Linked DNA regions of Homo sapiens: regions 1 and 2 are each linked to region 3. Evidence: promoter capture Hi-C in human tissues and cell types (Jung and others, 2019). All regions are on one chromosome and are shown on one strand. The core of a region is centred on a gene start or on the middle of the fragment in contact, and the rest is flanking DNA. Distances in the headings are between cores, read along the strand shown.

What was found. Contacts are between HindIII fragments. The study calls those that stand out against the background at their distance.
Region 1: a contact is called between a fragment that was not itself captured here and the fragment with the promoter of BNC2 in region 3, in 1 of the 25 tissues and cell types used here (hippocampus).
Region 2: a fragment that was not itself captured here is called in contact with the fragment with the promoter of BNC2 in region 3 in 1 of the 25 tissues and cell types used here (lymphoblastoid cells).

What each region holds. Positions count from the first base shown.
Region 1 is chr9:16,826,621-16,830,175 of GRCh38, forward strand. All of the region lies in intron 1 of BNC2 (basonuclin zinc finger protein 2), which reads right to left. Among named protein-coding and RNA genes, the nearest start is that of BNC2, 42 kb to the right of the region's middle. RefSeq lists an enhancer at 2,258-2,427. The HindIII fragment of the contact is 3,516 bases long and covers 1-3,335 here.
Region 2 is chr9:16,931,093-16,934,992 of GRCh38, forward strand. No RefSeq gene overlaps it. Among named protein-coding and RNA genes, the nearest start is that of BNC2, 62 kb to the left of the region's middle. The HindIII fragment of the contact is 3,915 bases long and covers 1-3,235 here.
Region 3 is chr9:16,869,082-16,872,708 of GRCh38, forward strand. BNC2 (basonuclin zinc finger protein 2) reads right to left here and starts at 1,589. Exons shown (of 7, transcript NM_017637.6): 1 at 1,565-1,589. The coding sequence starts at 1,567. The HindIII fragment of the contact is 8,994 bases long and covers 1-3,627 here.

The sequences.
Region 1 (3,555 bases), core at 328-2,827, 42 kb before region 3:
CAGAAAAATGACTGAAATATAGTAAACAAGTAGCCCTTTATGGAAGGCAAGCATGTTTTCACCATGGATTTTGATCATCTACTTAGAAAGGGAAACCCCAATAACCCAAGTGGACAATAGCTCTGTGCTGGATCAAGTCTCCAAATCCAGGGCAACAAACTATGGAAAATAGCCTAAAGACAGATGAAATGATGGATGGATAGATGGATGGATGGATGATCGATGGATGGATGAATACACAGAGCTATCTAAATAAGAAAAAAATTTTCTAAATGCTATCAAAATTCCATATAATACAGATGACAGATTTTGATGAAGGGACAAGCTATCCACTTCACCTGATGCAGAAAAACCAAAGGTTAATGTATGTAACTTTTTTGGTTTATTCCAGTTCCCAGATAACCAGCAATAAGTGCTATGATTTAAGCGATGTTACCAATTAGACTTGGAGATAGCTACCACAGCACTGACTATAATGCTTACATTGCATTAGGTTTAATTACTGTAAAGTTACATCTGGAGAGGAAAACATAATTTTATAACCACTCTCAGCATTCTAACTTGTGCTCAGTCTCTGCACGATACATATTTGCCCAAGTAATTGAAGCCCTACAAGGCACCACAGTTAATAATGTGTAACTAGGAGAAACACATGGAAAAGCGACAAGCAGGTCTCTGTGAATTAAATTCACATGTAATTATGTGACCTTTCAGTGTTCTTCTAGTCTTCCTGAGAGCAGGTACTCCAGAGCAGCTGCGACCAGCCTCAGTGGGACCCACTGAACAGGAATTTGACTGAGAGTGGAGGAAAGAGGTATTGTACTGATGGAGAAAGATGAAGACAATTGCTTGGGTGAGTCCAGCTCTGATTCTCCTACTTGTCACTCATTGTCATATTCCTAGAATCCGGAGAACTCAGTCAACACATGAGTAATTCGATCAAAAAGGAAAACTATAAACTTTGTTGTTCATGGTGACTTAAGTGCATTGGGTCTCAACCTAAAAATGGGGTGCGTGCAAAGGAGTGGAATTTGTGAGTACTGGTGAAAGAACAAGAAAAGGAGATTAAGAGATTCTATGTGCACACGTGTGTAAAAGAGTATCATGGTACATATGGGAAGAAGTGTGAAACATGTATAGCTGGCTACATTTTTCAAGACTGAATTACAGTACAGGAATACAAAAACAAAAAAGAAAATGGGCCCCTATAATTTATAAATCTCAGACTCATGATTAATGGCAACATGTATTTTGTTTGAATCCATATGATATGCCCATTCATCCAAAAAACATTTATTGAGGCATGTCTGTATTCTTCATAAAGTGATCAAAGATGGCAGTGCTTTATAGAATTACCTTATATATCCATTATAAACTGAAAGCAGTATTTCTACTACTAACACTAAATGATCTCAGGTCTAAATTTCCATGTCTGCAATGATATGTTCACACTATAAAGTCATCCAAAATCCTACACAAAATGTAAAAAGTACCTCAGGAAAAAAATTGACAGACATAACCAGACATCTGCATGCTACTTAAAATGTGATAAAAATGGAGTAGCTTAATCAAATCTTTTAATACCAAAATATTCTATAACTGTGCCCAAAAAAAAATCACAGGTTCAAATAAATTTGTAACTAATCCAGTGAGAAATACTGATTATATTTTATAGAAAAACCACAGCAAACAACACATTATATTTACCTGAACTTCCAGGTATCAATTCATAATACTTACAAAACCCTAACTGAAAATGCTTAGTCTTGAGTAAGCATAAACCCTTCCCATGAAATGAATATAAAATTAATACTGTCTCTTTAAGTTACAGGACCTGCTATAGTTAGGTAGTATGAAGCCAAGAATACGTTCTGAAGCTTAACTCTCAGGAGCAAACATTTTCTACTTGTGAAGTAAACTCTGTTGAAAGACAGCAGACTACGGTCCCACCAGTAAAAACAGGAAAGTTTTCAGCCAGTGACAGCTTTGCCTACAGAGAAAAAAAAAGTGTCACAGACTCACTTTATTAAACCATATGCTCATTGCCCTGTGAAGAAAGCAGGGTCACTAATTAGTTCATTCTGTGAAAGAAGCCCTTCCTGATCCCGTTGACTTTTGTCCCCCTGGTTAGCTCCAGCTATTTCTGTCATGCAACTTGAAAATCACTGGAGGGAGGAAGATCGCCATAACAACCGCTGAAATGATCTTGTGGAATGTGTCTAGTGGCACTGGAATAACCTGAATATGTGCTCCAGATGTGTCGGCTGTCAGGAAAAAAGTAAACACATCTGATGGACAGCGTATGACTAGATGGCCCCGAAGCGACTCCAGAGGCTGGGGCGCGGGGGAGAGGCCGCATGTGTGAGCAGGGGGGCGGCGGGGTGGGCTGGGCAGAGCAGAAGGGAGGCGAGCCAGGAGCCGGCACGAGGCACCAGGGGACCTGGGGCCTGGGGCGGCCTGGGAGGACTGAGCGCGACTGTTCCGCCCGCGTCCCTCCCCTGAGTGGCCTCTGCGGGACTGCAGCGGCCTCTGCGAATTTCCGTCTGGCACGGACTTGTGAGCATTAGGGAGCAAACTACAACATGAATGCTGAGGAAGGGTAGAAGAGAGGAGCGGGCTCAAAACGCTTTCTGTCTTAAATATTAATGGCAACATGTTTTTAAAGCATTCTATCTTCAGGGTAGGGCTGTCTCCTGGCCCCTACTCACCCTTTACCAAATGAATGGTTTTGCTTTTTTGTTCCATATGCATACTCAAGCACTCTTTTTATTAGGTGACTGGGTGATTACATTCCTGATCCGAATATGTTGTCTTTTTTGATGGTGGTGGTGTTCCGCAGACTTTCACAAGTTGGACAAGTGGGTTGGTTCCCTAACCCAAAACATTTTTTAAAAATATTTTTCTAATAAAATACATAGAAATGACTAGAAAACACGATATAGGCCAAAACACATTCTCACCTTAGTTCCTATTCTCAGGGGTGTTTGCAAAGAGGAGGATTTAGATCTATGCCCAGTGCTAACATTCACAAACAAAACGGCAATTCTACAAACATCTTAACGCACAGTAGGCACTTGTTAAATATTTGCTGATCAAAATATTTTTAATGTACAAAATTCAACTACAAATGCTACTTGGGTTCTACATATAAACAGTGGCAGGGATTACTTAAAAAAATAAGTAACCAAGCTTAAAAATACTTAAGAAAAATAAATAGGAAGTTTATTTCCCCAGGGGAACAGAAATGCCCCCCTAAAGAAAATAGAAAACACTATATTCACACTATAGGACACAAACCACCTACTTGTGCATGAATCCACCACATTTTAATGCCTATTTCTACTCCAATCATTTGTAGAATGGGCCTTACTTAAGTTTTAGAGACTATGTATAAAAATATTCACTACATTTCTGCTATAAATGCTTATATCTGTGAAAAGCCTAGAAGGTCTGTAAAGAAATTTACAATCTATGTGAAAAGCTTTTGAAACAACATATTCCATATTTTCTTTCAAAAACTCCACACAATTATATTTCAATAAAATATCTAACGGT
Region 2 (3,900 bases), core at 28-2,527, 62 kb after region 3:
GAGGCTGCAGTAAGCTGTGATTACACCACTGCACTCCAGCCTGGGTGACAGAGAGAGACCTTGTCTCAAAAAAAAAAAAAAAAAAAAAAGAAAGTGTCAGATCCACTCATTCACTCTCTATCCCTTCTTCCTATCATGACTTTCATTGTAGTATCCTTCTTACTGATCTTATTGCCTCTAGTCTTAAGAGTTTCATCCACCTCCTCTACAGTTGCACCAGAGAGATCATATTAGGTTGCAAATACCATCAATGCCAGATATTATTTGTCCATTTGGGAAACATCTATTGGGGCCAACTTGTACACTTGGTGTTTATTCTTCAGCAATCAACATCCTTCTTTTCGCTTTCTATAAGGCTTTTGTTTCTATCTTGAAATCCATGTGATTCTGCCAATGGAGCATGTGACCTAGAATATTCCATCTCTCTCTCTTTTTTTTTTTGAGACAAAGTCTTGCTCAGCCACCCAGGCTGGAGTGCAGTGGTGCTATCTTGGCTCACTGCAACCTCCGCCTCCCAGGCTCAAGCGATTCTCCTGCCTCAGCCTCCCGAGTAGCTGGGACTACAGGTGAGTGCCACCACGCCCAGCTAATTTTTGTATTTTTAGTACAGATGGGGTTTCACCATGTTGGCTAGGATGGTCTCCATCTCTTGACCTCGTGATCCGCTTGCCTTGGCCTCCCAAAGTGCTGGGATTACAGGCATGAGCCACTGCAACCGGCCTCCATCTCTTTTGACACATAGGTTGGTTCTTTTGTGACATCTGACCTAGGGTGCCAATTGGAGCAAAACTTAAATTCTGCTTGGAATGTTCAGATAAAGGGTGTTCACTTTCCTTCCAGAGGGTATGTAGCTGTGAGACATGGAATTGTTACAGCTATGTTTGTTCTATGAGGAAATGTAGTCTGAGAATAAAGCAAGCACAGAGGGGACAGCAGAGCCAAGAAAGTCAGAAAAATGGACCCAGAGCCCAAATGATAAGAAATTCTGATTCAAGCCATGCCTGATGTCTCTGACTGGACATTTTGTTTCATGAACCAATAAATTACCTTTATTATTTAAACCAGATTGAATTGAATTTTCTATTATTTGCAACAACAACAAAAAATCTGCTCAAAAGCTTACTGTGTGCTAGGGTTTATACTAGAAGCTTAAAGCCATTTCACTACTTCAATGCTTCTCCTTGCCTATAGTGTTATTGATAATTAGTATAATCACATGCAGGACAAAGTCTCAATTCCTTTCCAAGGAGTTTCTCAATCAACAATGTTCTCCATGAAATGGCCTTGTCTACTTTTTTTGCTGCATCCCTTGTGGCATTATATATGTGTGTTTTCCGTTTTCATATTGCTATAAAGATACTACCCAAGGTACACTCTTCCTTAATTTATAAAGGAAAGAGGTTTAATTGACTCACAGTTCTGCATGGCTGGGAAGGCCACGGAAAACTTACAATCATGGCGGAAGGGGAAGCAGGCACGTCTCACATGGTGGCAGGAGAGATAGAGTGTGTGTGAGCGCAGGAAAAACTACCATTTACAAAACCATCAAATCTCGTGAGAATTCACTCCCTATCATGAGAACAGCATGGGGGAAACCACCCCCGTAATCAAATCACTTCCCTCCATTAACATATGGGGATAACAATTTGAAATGAGATTTGGGTGAGGACACAGAGCCAAACCATGTCTGTCTGTCTGTCTGTCTGTCTGTCTGTCTGTCTGTCTGTCTATCTAGCTATCTATCAGGCGTGGTGGTGGGCGCCTGTAGTCCCAGCTACTCAGGAGGCTGAGGCAGGAGAATGGCGCGAACCCAGGAGGTGTAAACTGCAGTGAGCCGAGACCGCGCCACTGCATTCCAGCCTGGATGACTGAGGGAGACTCTGTCTCAAAAAAAAAAAAGAAATATTCACTTTGACGAATGCTGCACTGACCGTCATATTCAGCAGGATTTGGAATTATCATTAGAATTTGTGCGTACTTGGCAAGAACACCTTTCCCTTCATTGTCCAGGAAAATTCTCATCTGAACCTACAAGGCTAGAATAAAATTACCACCTCAGTGAAGTCTTCCCTTAACCCCTTGCAGCCTTACATTTTCTTTCTGATGTTCCCATAAGTAATTTATAAAGCTTATAAATTATCTTGAAGGATTTTAATTGTTGGGGTCTGTTTCTGTACTGGAGTATAAACTCCTTGAGGATAGCAACCATGTCTTTTGGCTTTCTATCTTTCAGGTCTTGTCGTAGTGTGTGGCACGTGGTAGGTGTCCAATAAGTGCAATAAAATGATGTGTTATGCTAAAAGTGTTATAGAGTTCAAATATAGTACTGTCCAGAACCATTAAGGAGCTGAGAAATGTTACAGTTAAGGGCCAATATTGTCAAGAACTGTGAAGGGTTTGAGATTTTACCCTACTTGTAAGCTATTAAGTTAGCTTGCCACAATATCATGGATGTTGTCAGAGACATGAGGCTCCTTGATCAGAGACAAAATAATGTATTAATCATGACAGTATTGGTAGACAAAGTGCCCAATAATGGCAATTTCTACAAAGTGATACAAATAGGGTGAAGTGATGTCTGAATATGCTGTGGGTTGCATTGTAGGAGATGAATTGTTAGCCTAGCGAAACTGAATCTTTTAGCGTAGAGAAACAGCCTGCCCTTTGCCCTAGAGAGAGACCTTAATTTTGTTATTCTGCACAGTAAACAAACCTGCTCTTGGCTCTGGAGGAAAATACTATCTCGGTCTTCCAAGGCTGTCTGTCATACAAGCATCCTTGAAAAGATAGTCTAGAACACAATGAGTTGTTCCACTGGCAAGATGAGCAGAAGTTTTATAGACCCATAGAGATTGTCTCCCCAAAAAAGACAGAATAGTTACAGTTGTGATTTCAATTCATGAAAGTGGTCGAAGAGGAGGTGATACTTAAGCCGAGGCTTAAAATATATGAGTAGGCATTCACCAGACAGATAGGATAGTAGGACATTTCATGAAGCTGGAGCAATGAGGAGGAGCATGAAGGAAAGGTGACTTAAGATGGTCTGACAAGGACAGCGTGTGAGGGAAGAAGGGGTCTCGTGAGATACTAGAAAAGGTAGGCCAGATGCAGCTCCCAGAAAGTCTTCTCTATCAGGCTGAGGACTACTTTATCCTGAGGTCAACAGGGAGCCAATGAAGGTTTCTAAGCAACTGAGGCATGTAGTCAGATTTGCATTTTAGAAAGATCTGTCTGAAACAGAAAGGGCATTCAAGGCAGAAGGAACAGCACGGATAGAACACACATTCAAGTGCCCAGTAAATTGAGGTAACCATAGGTGTCTCTGAATATGATGGTCAGTGCAACATTCATCAAAGTGAATATTTCTTTTTTTTTTTTTTTTTTTGAGACAGAGTCTCACTCAGTCACCCAGGCTGGACTGCAGTGGCGCAATCTCAGCTCACTGCAATTTACACCTCCTGGGTTCACGCCATTCTCCTGCCTCAGCCTCCCGAGTAGCTGGGACCACAGGCGCCCACCACCACACCCGGCTAATTTTTTCATATTTTTAGTAGAGACGGGGTTTCACCGTGTTAGCCAGGATGGTCTCGATCTCCTGACCTCGTGATCTGCCTGCCTCGGCCTCCCAAAGTGCTGGGATTAAAGGTGTGAGCCACCACGCCCAGCCCAAAGTGAATATTTCTTAAGAGTGACTCAGCACTTTTAGTCAGTCACCAGGTGCCAGCTGTGAAGTTGGAGCCTAACCTGGGGAAGTCTAGGGCTGTGCCATGTTAAATTAGGCTAAGCTAATTTTTTTTTTTTTTTTTTTGACAGAGTCTCACTCTGTCGCCAGGCTGGAGTGCAGTGGCGTGATCTTGGCCCATTGCAACCTCCACCTCCCGGGTTCAAGCCATTCTCCTG
Region 3 (3,627 bases), core at 339-2,838:
CCACCGGCTTTTACAGTGTTCTTGTGTAAAACGCCCGTTAGAAGAAAAACTCTCAAGCTCTAAACAGATATATTTAATATTGTTGTGATGTCTCACTTAAACACGGCTTTCAACAATTCCAAGTGTCCACGAAGTATATAAAAATAAAACAGGCCACTTTTTGCCACTTTAATCCTGGGTACACAGGATTATTTTATGATGTCTTTTGTACGTCAGTTTTACAACAGCTTGACTCTAGGGTAAATGGGAACCATCATAAATCGCACGCTGCTTTCAAAACCACTTTAATTTCTGTCAGCGTTACTGTAACCACAGTCCTGGGCTCTTGCTTTTGTGTGTGTGTGTGTGTGTACGCGCCCCTGCATTTGACAGTCCCATCTCCTACACTCCAGTTGTGACTTTGATCACTGAAACAAGAGATGTCACATTAGGGAGCAGGGAAGAGGAAAAAATGCCAACCCGCTATCTCACCTGTATTCTCATATGTTCCCTCTATATACGGAATACACCATGTCAGATCCCCAAGTGGGGGTAACAATAGCGACGCTGGGAGGAAGCAAACTAAAAAGAAGGGAGTGGTCAAGCCCCATTTCTAACAAATCACTTCCCCGAAAGCGGACAGAGCGGCTCATCACCAGGCGAACTAATTGCACGCTTCCTCGCTGCAAAGAAGTCGCTTCTCGTAGAGGGGCTGTGCTGGAGTCTCGCTTGGCAAAGCCAGCCCATCTCCTCCACCACTTGCACTTGGAACTTTTTTTCAACCTTAAACTCACTTCACAGGAGATTTCACCTAGGGTTTTTCAGCATATATAATTTTTTATTCTGCTCCCTCCCCAGGCCCCAAATCCCACCCTCCAGTCAACGTGCAAGTAAAACAAATCGGCTCCTATAGAATTGCACTTCGAAAAGAGCCGTCTCTGCAAGGTTGATTTTCCTGCCCTGCGTTCTGCACCTTCTCCGTAAAGCCTGCGGGAGCATTTCCTCCCATCTCCATTTACCACGGGAAGATTCCGAATGTGAAGACAAGGGGAGAGGAAGAGTCAACGTGCCGGGCCCGGGCGGCTGCGCCCCAGCGCACCCGGCACCCACGCCCAGCCGCCGGTCCCTCACTCGGCGGCAAGTTGTAAAAGTTCCCGTAGGTCCCAGCCGCCTTCCTCTCTTCCCCGAGCTCCTGCCAGCGCTCCATTCATCCCCCACTCCCCTCCACCTCGTCCCCCCAGCCCGTCCCCAACGCCCTGGAGCCTCCCCTAGCCAGCCGCTCACCTTCGCGCGGAAGCCGCGAGCGGGGCCGACCTTGAGAAGCCCCCTCTCACGTGCACCCTCCCACCTAGAGCTCGCCTCAGAAACTTGGGGCCAAGTTTAGGGGAGGCCACTGGGAGCGCAGCGGGGATCAGGTCGGACCGGGGTTCTGGTCCCCGGCCCGCCCTCCTCAGCGCCCCTTGCCCCTCACGCCGCGGGCCGGAGGGCGGACACGGCCCCCGGGCGGCCCCGGTGGCGCTCGGGCGCGGGGGTCATTTCTGAGGAAGTCTAGAATAAAAGAGGAAGGAGGGTGGAAACTTCTTACCATCTCGGCATGCTGGTTGTCAAGTGCAGCCCCCGCCTCTTGGTCTCCTCTTAGCGGCCGCGCCTGGACCAGCCCCTCGGCCGCCGCTGGCTCCCTCCGTCTCGGCCTTTCTCTCCCTCCCCCTCCGAGTTCCTCCGGGCCTCCGCTCTCGCCGCCTCCGCCTCCCCGCCCGCCCGCGCGCGCCCTCGCCGCGGCCCCTCTGCGCTCAGGTGACTGATTTACACTCGCGCCGGGGTCGCGCTCGCGCCCCGAGTCCCAGCCGGCACGGTTCCCCGGCTCCTCCTCGGGACAAAAAAAAAAAAAAAGGGAACGGCTTGTCCCGGGAGGGGGCTGCCCTGCTCGCGGGAGGCGGGGGACCGGCGGGCGAGGTGACCTCGGCGGCCGTGCAAGCCCCACAAGTTTTTCCTCTCTCTGCAGAATTGTCGTGACTACAATGTTGCTTCCCTTTTGCAAAATAAAAGTCGGTCGTTGTGTTGTTTGTCCTCAGAGGTCCAGGGGCTTGGGGAAGGAGGATGTATGTTTCTCCCTCCCCCCACCGCCCCGTGACTTCTTTGGGGGCTTGTTTGTTGTTTGGGTTGTTCTTGCTCTCTCTTTCTGGGGATGGAAAAAACAACTTTGTGGGGATGGAAAAACAACCCTGGCGCCCCCCCCCCCCCCCGGGGAGCTGCGGGCGTGGAGGTAGAGGTGGCCGCTAGCGCCCAGCTGTCACACACACACAAAAAAAAATTGCGGGGCGGGGGTGGGGAGCGGAGCAAGGAGAGGAGGCTGCGAAACGCCGAGGAAAGGGCGCGAACTTTATTCCGACTGCAGCAAACCGCGGCAGCTCTTTCCTTTTCGGGCACTCGGGCGTCTCTGTCCCCTTTGACCAGTTCCTCCTCCCCAGCCCCGCACGCCCCCTCCTCCCCTGCCCCTTCCCCAGCGTCCCAGCCGCGGCCGACCCGGCTCCCCGCGACCCTCTCAGCCCAGCTCCTCCGCGCGCCGCTGGGGAGAAGGCGAGTGAGGCGGAGGAAAACCCAGCGGACAGAAACCTGGGACGCGAACGTGCTGGGAGAAAAGGCCAAAAGTTGCGCGCAGCTGGGGGAAAAAAGTTTTTCTGGTGGCGGAGCGTTTTGTGCCGGCCCAGACGCCGGCTTGCGGCGAGGGCTTCCTTCCCTTTCCCGTGGTCTGGGCCGCGGGCCTCGGGCTGGAGAGGAAGGAGGCTGTCGCGCCCGCGGGGGAAAGAACAGTCACATCTGTGGGTGACACTCAGCCGACCCAAGTCACCCTGCCCTGGAGACTCAGAAACGCCGACTACAGCCTAAGCGCGCACACGCCTGCAGCTGAACGATATTTCTTAAATACAGGCAAAACACACTCCCCGGCCGCAAGAATGGGGCGGGGGTGGGGGGGGAGCTTAATCATCATCATCTAACTAACGTACACTTTGTGCCAAAAACATCTCCGAGTTATGCAGATTTATCATAACTACAGCAAACTTTCTGGTTATCTAACATGGGAGGAAGGCATAGGTTTCAAGCATACTCCCTGAGCACTAAGAAATCAGAGAATCGGCGAAGACTTGGCAGAACAGCAGGTATGGTTACCGGTTCCTAGTGAAAAGTGAGAATCATCCCTTCTTCCCTTCTCTCTTCCTCAAACGGAGAGAGAGAGAGAGAGAGACTACTTAATTGCATTCAGAGGACAGAATTAAATTCCTTTGAAAATATGTAGCCTTGGAATTACATGGTTTTATTTTCTTTGCAGAGTCCGGTCTTAGTTTAATATAAATTTTCACAGTAACTGATTTTTTTAAATTTTTCGGGAGCCGCTGATGAGAGTCCCAAGTAGCCACAGCTGTCTTGAAAATGTGATTAGGTGGCCGGGCGCGGTGGCTCACGCCTATAATCCAACTTTGGGAGGCCGAGGCGGACGGATCGCCTGAGGTCAGGAGTTCGAGACCGGCCTGACCAACATGGTGAAACCCCATCTCTACTAAAAATACAAAAATTAGCCAACTGTGGTGGCGGGCGCCTGTAATCCCAGCTACTCAGGAGGCTGAGGCAGGAGAATTGCTTGAACCCGGG